Linked DNA regions of Homo sapiens: regions 2 and 3 are each linked to region 1. Evidence: promoter capture Hi-C in human tissues and cell types (Jung and others, 2019). All regions are on one chromosome and are shown on one strand. The core of a region is centred on a gene start or on the middle of the fragment in contact, and the rest is flanking DNA. Distances in the headings are between cores, read along the strand shown.

Region 1 (2,860 bases), core at 170-2,669:
TCACACAGCTGCTCTGCTGATACCAGACTGTAGGGGGAAGAAGGACAATAAGGGAAGCAGGAAGATGTGTTTGCAGGCTTTTTGCAGTGATCAAGAAGCGGCTTGGACCAGAATGGTAGCAGGGGAGGTGTGTTAACTGGTGAAAGTTAGGATGTCTTTAAAGGTAGAGTCAATCTCCAGATGGATTAGATGTGAGGTGTGGAACAAAGAGGCCAAACCAAAAACCCAAAGGTTTCTGCTTGAGTAACTGCAAGGACAGACTTACTATTTGAGATGAATAAGCTGTAGGAAGAGTAGATTTCAAGGGGAAAATCATCAGTAGCTCTGTTTTGGACAAGTTGACCTTGAGATGTATACTGGATATCTGAAGGAAACATTGAAAAAACTGTTGGATACAAGTTTGGAGTTCCAGGGACTTGTCTGGTTGGCAATAAATCTTTCCTCTTCTGATCTAGTCTCATAGCTTTAAACAGAATATAATGCCACATAATGCCAATGACTCCCAAATATTTATGGTTATGGTCGATTCCAGGCAGATTGTGGTGATGTGGCCATATTGCCAGCAAAGGGAGGTCAGGGTTTCTAGCGCTGCCTCTTTATCTCCGATTATGGAACAGGCATGGTTTTAGTTCCAGTGCTTGGGTCTCCCTGGATTTAGACATCATTCCTTTGAATTCCCACCCAATATAATGAGGGTCAATATCTTCGCTAGCTTTACTAAGTCTTAATTATCTGGTGAGGTGTAGACACAAATTTGAATCAAGGTCTGAAGTCCTTACCTGGGGCTCTTTCTTCCATGCCATCATGCCAGTCTTTGTGAAGACATTTTTCAAAGGCTCATTCTTCTTACCTCTTTTCTAGGAATTTTAGTTTATTTCTTTACTTAACTTCAGAAATTAATTTCTCACTTCATTTTAGTAGCAGGAATGTTAGTGCTGAGAAACTGAGATGTTAGGGAGAATCCTTGACCAAGACTTCCAGGCTCTAGATACTAGGTGTGTCTTGCTCTAATTAAGGAAATCTTATCTGCTCCATCTTAGCCCAGTTTAACGTCCCCAGGAATTCCATCTTCTGCAGTCCTAAACTTTTCCCTTTTTCAATTCAGTGCAACTTATACTCTTCTCTGAAAGTGGCTCCAGGTCTGAAGAACTGTGGTCTGGGAGGAATAGAAAAGCATGCTCAGCTATAACCAGGCCCACATCCCCTAAGTTGCCTGCCCACCAAGTTACGGGCCGGACTTATGCGCCACGCTTTGTCCGGGGACCTCGCGCTGTCCTCCCTCCGGTTCCCACAGAGCAGGGGGCTTCCGGCGGGGTACCCTCCTCTGTGGGCGGGGCCTACCGCTCCCGCTCCCGCCTCCCCGGTTGCGCGCGGCTGCGGGCTGCGATCACGTGAGCACAGCAGGGAGGGGGAGGGGCCCTGATTTCCGGGCGGCGGAAGGAGACGCGGCCGCGTGAGGACGAGGCTATTTGAAAACACGCTCCGGGAGCTAGAGCCTGAGGTCGGCGGCGCACGCTGTTGCCCCGTGGGCTTCTGCTCCCTCGCTTGTCTTCTCGGGCTTCTCGCCCCGGCCGCGGCCGGGTCCTCAGGTAAGCGGCCGTCGCCCGTCGGGCCGGGTCCTCCCGGGGCGCGGGACTGAGCGTGGTGGGGCCGTCGCCCCCCGATCCGCGGCCCAAGCGGGCAGGGTCGGCCGTGCACGATTTGCGTCCCCCGGGTCTGGGCCGCGGCGTCCCTCCGAGCTGGGCCTGGGTGTGCGGCCGGCACTGCGGGGGCGGGACCCCCTAGGGCGTTTGCGGAGCTTCAGGTGACTGGGCGGGTTCGCCTGGTTTCGGGTCCGAGAGAGTTTTAGCCCGGAGTGTGTGAATCGGGCCCCACTTCCCCGACTCTGGTCCTGGCCGGCGTCCCTTGGAGTAGGAGGAACGATGGTTTCCTAAAACCCATGGTGTGTTCGCCTCTGGGATGGATGCAGGACCGAATACGGAGTGGGGATGAGCTGGCGTCCCCTGTTCCGTCCTCTGGTCGCCCAGGCGGGAGAGTTAAGCGAGCGGAAGGGGACTACCAGTTTTCTGGGGTCGCCCCTGCCTGGGCCATTTGCTTTTTGGGAAGTCTGTCGCCTCTGGTTGGCCCCTCAGTGGAGTTTGGAGGAACTCATGAGTTTAAGGGTTTGGGGAGGAAATTATCAAAGGCCGAGTGCAGTACGATCGTTCTCTCTGATTTTTTTTGGAAAAGAAGGTGGAAATGAGGAAGGGTAAGAAGGTGGCAGGCAAACTATTTATAGTTGGAATTTAGTTCGATTGAAATCCTAAAAACGCTAGGATCTGCCTTTTGTTGGAATTAGAAAAGACCTACAGTAGGAATGTGTGACATTCAGCTTTGAAACTATTGGGGATCGCAAACCTAAGGACTAGTGATGTGAGCTCCTCCTCTGAGACTGGCGTTCCTACCTTTTGCTAAAAACCGGCTACTGTAAAAGTGGCTTAGTGGGACTTTTTGATTTGCTGTGTTATGAAAATCTTTGTTATAAGTTAAAGTCAATTACTAGTAGAACTTTGAGAGTTCTTCGCATGAAAATGCTTTGTATCCCGTAATAATATTACTAGGTTTGAAAAGTCAAGGAAGGTCAATCAGCCTTCTTAATTTTCCTAACAGAGAAAGCATTAATGTGACTAATACAAAGCGATAGATAATATGGCATGAAGTTGACAGTAGACTGTTGAAGATCTATCAGGTGGTTAATGGCTAAATAGAACCCACAGGAGTGGAGGAGGAAGGGAGTTAATTTTTCTGAATGTCCTGTACCATTTACTTTCGTGTCTAGTACCAGCTAGTAATAAAATTGTAGGAAAAGCTCACAAAGTGT
Region 2 (2,860 bases), core at 213-2,712, 430 kb after region 1:
ATGATAGTGTTAAGTATTGAAAACTAAAATCTGAATTTAAAAAAAATAACACTGAAACCACAGACTAGAGAGTAAATAAAAAATGAGACTGCACTTTTAATATATATGTTTTAATTTTTACCAAGGCAACTGTTAGCTTTCAGAGTATCATCCAAAAAGAATTAGGAACAGAATCATGGGAATTTTTTCATTTGATAGGAACCATAGGAATATGTGATATTATAGCAGAATATTTATATAGAATATAAACATCAACACCAAATATCATATGTTATTTTTATTGGAAATTAAAAAATCAAATAATTAAAATGTTAGCAGATGTGAATAGTTACATTAAACACATTTTTGATACTTTACACATTCCCAAAACATCAACTTAGAAATAATTTGAAAGGATAGAAACATAAAAATTCCCTCATATATGCATAGAAAACATACATTATAAGAGTAGAGCATTAAAAAAAATTTCTAGGGCATTTTTATATTCCTCGTTCTGCACATTCTTAAAATTTGGTAAAGAATGATGTAGCAAAAACTTCTTTTGATACTCCTAAAATTTTTACATAATCTAAGAACTAAACAATAACTATTAAGCTTAAAACAATTAGACCGGCCAGGCGCGGTGGCTCATGCCCATAATCCCAGCACTTTGGGAGGCTGGGGCAGGTGGATCACCTGAGGTCAGATGTTTGAGACCAGCCTGGCCAACATGGTGAAACCCCGTCTCTACTAAAAGTACAAAAAAATTATCTGGGCATGATGGCAGGTGCCTGTAATCCCAGCTACTTGTGAGGCAGAGGCAGGAGATCGCTTGAACCTGGGAGGTGGAGGTTGCAGTGAGCCAAGATCGTGCCACACTGCACTCCAGCCTGGGCAACAGAGTGAGACTCCTTCTCAAAAAATAAATAAATAAATAAAAATATTTTAAAAAATTAGACCATATTGAAAATGTATTTACCAAACATAAATTTAAAACCATTACCAAACCACTTTCATTTATAAGAAAAATTTAATTGATGCCATCAGATCCAGTGTGAAAGCTCTTTTAGGCAGTGTTATAACAGTAATAAAAGTTTGAGAAAGGAAGCCAGAGATTCATGTTTGAAAATAAACCACTTTTAAATTAATTGCCCACTACTAACCTGTTGCGATATTTTAAGAAAAATTAACACTAAGGAAACAGAGTTGAGAATGTGTAGATGCCAAGGCTATCAGAATTCATGGATCAGAGAATACCAGAGAGGAGAAGGCTGCATGGTGAAGGGCTAGTTGCACTGAGAGGAGAGGAATACACTGAGAGAGAACTCCAGAGATCTGCAGGGTTTTCCTTTTGAGTCTTCAACAAAGGACTCCTCCACACATGCATGTGAGGGAACAACCCGTGGTCAGAAAAAGAACAGGTAGAATAATTCCTGAAGATCACCCAAGGCTAGAAATGGTACATGTGACCACAAGTCAGAGTGGAAAAACCTTGGAATACACTGAGTATCAGGTAGAATACTCCAAAGTATTGCTCTCTGTAGGAAAAAATTAGCCCTGAACTAAAGGCTGTTCTGGTCCTAAGCAAGAAAGGTTAAAAGAAAGACTCAAGGCTGGGCGCAGTGGCTCACGCCTGTAATCCCAGCACTTTGGGAGGCTGAAGCGGGCGGATCACAAGGTCAGGATATCAAGACCATCCTGGCTAATATGGTGAAACCCCGTCTCTACTAAAAATACAAAAAAATTAGCCGGGTGTGGTGACAGGCACCTGTAGTCCCAGCTACTCAGGAGGCTGAGGCAGGAGAATGGCAGGAACCTAGGAGGCAGAGCTTGCAGTGAGCCCAGATTATGTCACTGCACTCCAGCCTGGGCAACAGAGCAAGACTCTGTCAAAAAAAAAAAAGAAAGACTCAAAAGGATCAAACTGTTCCCAACGAAACTGTGTTTCAGAATAAAGCTAAAAAATATTTAAATAAATTAAAAAATATTCAGTACCCAATAAAGTAAATTTCACAATGTCTGGTATCCAAAAGATAATTGCCATGCATGCAAAAAAGCAGAATAACATGATCTGCAATGAGAAAAACCAATCAACAGAAATAGACCCAGATATGATAGGGATAATGGAATTAATAAATGAGGATATTAAAAACAGTTATTATGATATGTTCCATGTATTTAAGAAGGTAGAAGAAAATATAAGCACATTAGAAGAAAAGCCATATAAGATATTTTAAAATATTAAATTAATAGAATTTAAAAAAAGAGTACCTGAAATTAAAAAATGCACTAGATGGGATTAATAGCAGATAAGACAATGCAGAAGAAAAGATTAGTAAACCTAAGGACACAGCAATAGAAACTATCCAAAATGAAACACACAGAGAAAAATAAGTTGAAAATAAATTAACCAAGATCAATAGTCATGGGCCAAATGAAAACAACATAAAATACATGTAACTGGACTCCATGAGAGAAAAATAATTTGAAAAACTTAACGCCAAAGATTTTCTACATTTGAGAAAAATGAGAAAACCATAGATCCAAGAAGCTCAAAGGACAAGAAAAATGAAGAAAGCTATACTAATGCACATTACAGTAAAATTACTTAAAATAAATAAAGAAAAACATCTTAAAAACGGGAAGAAAAAAGACACATGAAATACGAAGAAACAAAGATAAGAATGACAGAAGACTTCTTGTGAGAAACAATCCAAGCCAGAAGACAGTGGGACAACATCTTGGAAGTATTCGAAAATGACAGAAAATGCAACCTAGAATTCTATCCCCAGAGAAAGTTGTTTTTTAAATAAGGCAAAATAAAGATATTTTTAAACATTAAAAAGCTGATAGAATCCATCACCAGCAGAAAGGTGTGCTA
Region 3 (2,860 bases), core at 150-2,649, 360 kb before region 1:
AAACAGACTAACACAATAAATTGGTACCAGTAGAGTGGGACACTGCTGAAAAGATACCCAAAAATGTGGAAGCAACCTTGAAACTAAGTAACAGGCAGAGGTTGGAACAGTTTGGAGGGCTCAGAAGAAGAGGAAAATGTGAGAAAGTTTGGAACTCCCTAGAGACTTGTTGAATGGCTTTTACCAAAATGCTGATAATGATATGGACAATGAAATTTAGGCTGAGGTGGTGTCAGATGGAGATGAGGAACTTATTGGGAACTGGAGCAAAGGTGACTCTTGTTATTTTTTAGCAAAAAGACTGGCAGCATTTTGCCCCTGCCCTAGAGATTTGTGGAGCTTTGAACTTGAGAGAGATGATTTAGGGTATATGGTGGAAGAAATTTCTAAGCAACAAAGCATTCAAGAGGAAAGTTGGACGCTGTTAAAGGCATTCAGTTTCAAAAGGGAAACAGAGCATAAAAGTTTAGAAAATTTGCAGCCTGACAATGCAATAGAAAAGAAAATCCCATTTTCTGAGGAAAAATTCAAGTGAGCTGCAGAAATTTGCATAAGTAATGAGGAGCCAAACGTTAATCACCAAGACAATGGGGAAACTATCTCCAACTGTCAGAGACCTTTGCAGCAGCCCCTCCCACCACAGGCCCAGAGGCCTAGGAGGAAAAAGTGGTTTCGGGGGCCAGGCCCAAGGTCCCCATGCTGTGTGCAGCCTAGGCACTTCGTGCCCTGTGTCCCAGCTGCCCCAGCCATGGCTGAAATGGGCCAACATAGAGCTCAGGCCGTGGCTTCAGAGGGTGGAAGCCCCAAGCTTTGGCAGCTTCCACATGGTGTTGAGCCTGCAGGTGCACAGAAATCAAGCATTGAGGTTTAGGAACCTCCACCTAGATTTCAGAGGATGTATGGAAATGCCTGGATGCCCAGGCAGAAGTTTGCTGCAGGGGTGGGGCCCTCATGGAGAACCTCTGCTAGGGCAGTATGGAAGGGAAATGTGGGGTTGGAGCCCCCCCACAGAGTCACTACTGGGATACCACTTAGTGGAGCTGTGAGAAGACGGCCACCATCCTCCAGACCCCAGAATGATAGATCCACCAACAGTTTGCACTGTGCTCCCAGAATGGTAGATCCACCAAAAGTTTGCACTGTGCACCTGGAAAAGATTCAGACACTCAACATCAGTCCATGAAAGCAGCCAGGAGGGAGGCTGTACCCTGCAAAGCACAGGGGCAGAGCTCCCCAAGACCATGGGAATCCACCTCTTGCATCAGCGGACCTGGATGTGAGACATGGAATCAAAGGTGATCACTTTGAGCTTTAAGATTTGACTGCTCTACTGGATTTCAGACTTGCCTGGGGCCTTTAGCCCCTTTGTTTCAGCCAATTTCTCCCATTTGGAATGGCTGTATTTACCCAATGCCTGTATCCCCATTGTATCTAGGAAGGAACTAACTTGCTTTTGATTTTACAGGGTCATAGGAGGAAGGGACTTGCCTTGTCTCAGATGAGACTTTGGCTGTGGACTTTTGAGTTAATGCTGAAATGAGTTGAGAGTTTGGGGGACTGTTGGGAAGGCATAATTGGTTTTGAAATGTGCAGATATGAGATTTTACAGGGGCCGGGCAGAACAATATGGTTTAGCCCTGTGTCCCCACACAAATCTCACCTTGGAGCTTCCATAATTCCCACATATTGTGGGAAGGAACCCAGTGAGAGATGATTGAATCATGAGGGCAGGTCTCTCCTGTGCTGTCCTTGTGATAGTGAATGGGTCACATGAGATCTGATGGTTTTAAAAACGGGAGTTTTTCTGCACAAGCTCTCATTTTGCCGCTGCCATCTATGTAAGATGTGACTTGCTCCTCCTTGCCTTCCACCACGATTGTGAGGCCTCCCCAGCCATGTGAAACTGTAAGTCCAATGAAACTATTTCTTTTGTAAATTCCCCAGTCTCAGGTATGTCTTTATCAGCAGCATGAAAATGGACTGATGCAAGGAGGCAACTTGTTCAAGAACTCACACGGTGTATTTGGCAAGTAAATGTAGGAGGATTTAAAGTCTTAAAACTGGAATAAATTTTTATTAGCATAAATCTAAAATAACATTGGCACAAAAAGTTTCCAGGTGACAGCTGGAGAAGAATTTTGTGAAACTCATCATTGTTCAAAAGCATTAGTGTGCAAAGATAAATTAATAATAATGGGAAAGACCAATTATTCATTGAATCTAGAATGAAATGAGGAGAAAAATATTATCTCTTTACAAATCTGGCCCAGTACTTTCACTATAAATTAAAATCGGTGATAAATCGCAAATAAATTGGATAGACATCTGCAGCAGAAATTAAATTACCAAATAAAAACTACACATTTGGGGAGTTTTATGAACATGGAAAGCTTTAAGAGAGATGGCTTTCTTTGTGGATTGTTTAATGGAGTCATTTCTTATTTAAAATGTTTTAAAGAATAAATGTAATGCCTTTTGAATATTGAGAGTTTTCTAAGAACTAGACTATAAGGAAGGTGTCTCCAGCACTTTCTCCAGGCTTTGTTGATCTCACAGTATCAGATACATAAGGACACAGTGATACACAGATGTAATGCCTAAATATAAATTTAATACATTGCAGTTACAAGTCCAACTTGTGACTTTGGCTTATGACAAATCACAGTTTAGTTATATTTATGAAAATCATGAAATCAGAGTGGAAAGGAAGACCTTTATAAATATGAACTTTCTTATCTTTAAAGATAGCTTAGGTTTCTATATATCTAAGATCAGCTTTGTATTTAAAATGAATAGTGAAGGGGGTCGCTTCCAAGATGGCCAAATAGGAATAGCTCCAGTCTGCAGCTCCCAGTGAGAT

The links. Contacts are between HindIII fragments. The study calls those that stand out against the background at their distance.
Region 2: a contact is called between a fragment that was not itself captured here and the fragment with the promoter of TEX10 in region 1, in 1 of the 25 tissues and cell types used here (lymphoblastoid cells).
Region 3: a contact is called between a fragment that was not itself captured here and the fragment with the promoter of TEX10 in region 1, in 1 of the 25 tissues and cell types used here (dorsolateral prefrontal cortex).

Annotation. Positions count from the first base shown.
Region 1 is chr9:100,351,501-100,354,360 of GRCh38, reverse strand. It overlaps TEX10 (testis expressed 10), which reads left to right and starts at 1,419. Exons shown (of 15, transcript NM_017746.4): 1 at 1,419-1,589. LOC105376177 (a long non-coding RNA gene) reads right to left here and starts at 1,311. Exons shown (of 4, transcript NR_188642.1): 1 at 780-1,311; 2 at 266-364. RefSeq lists enhancers at 1,092-1,726, 2,131-2,180 and a silencer at 1,241-1,790. The HindIII fragment of the contact is 15,352 bases long and covers 1-2,860 here.
Region 2 is chr9:99,925,528-99,928,387 of GRCh38, reverse strand. All of the region lies in intron 2 of STX17 (syntaxin 17), which reads right to left. Among named protein-coding and RNA genes, the nearest start is that of STX17, 20 kb to the right of the region's middle. The HindIII fragment of the contact is 5,591 bases long and covers 1-2,860 here.
Region 3 is chr9:100,710,524-100,713,383 of GRCh38, reverse strand. No RefSeq gene overlaps it. Among named protein-coding and RNA genes, the nearest start is that of CAVIN4, 130 kb to the right of the region's middle. The HindIII fragment of the contact is 5,997 bases long and covers 1-2,860 here.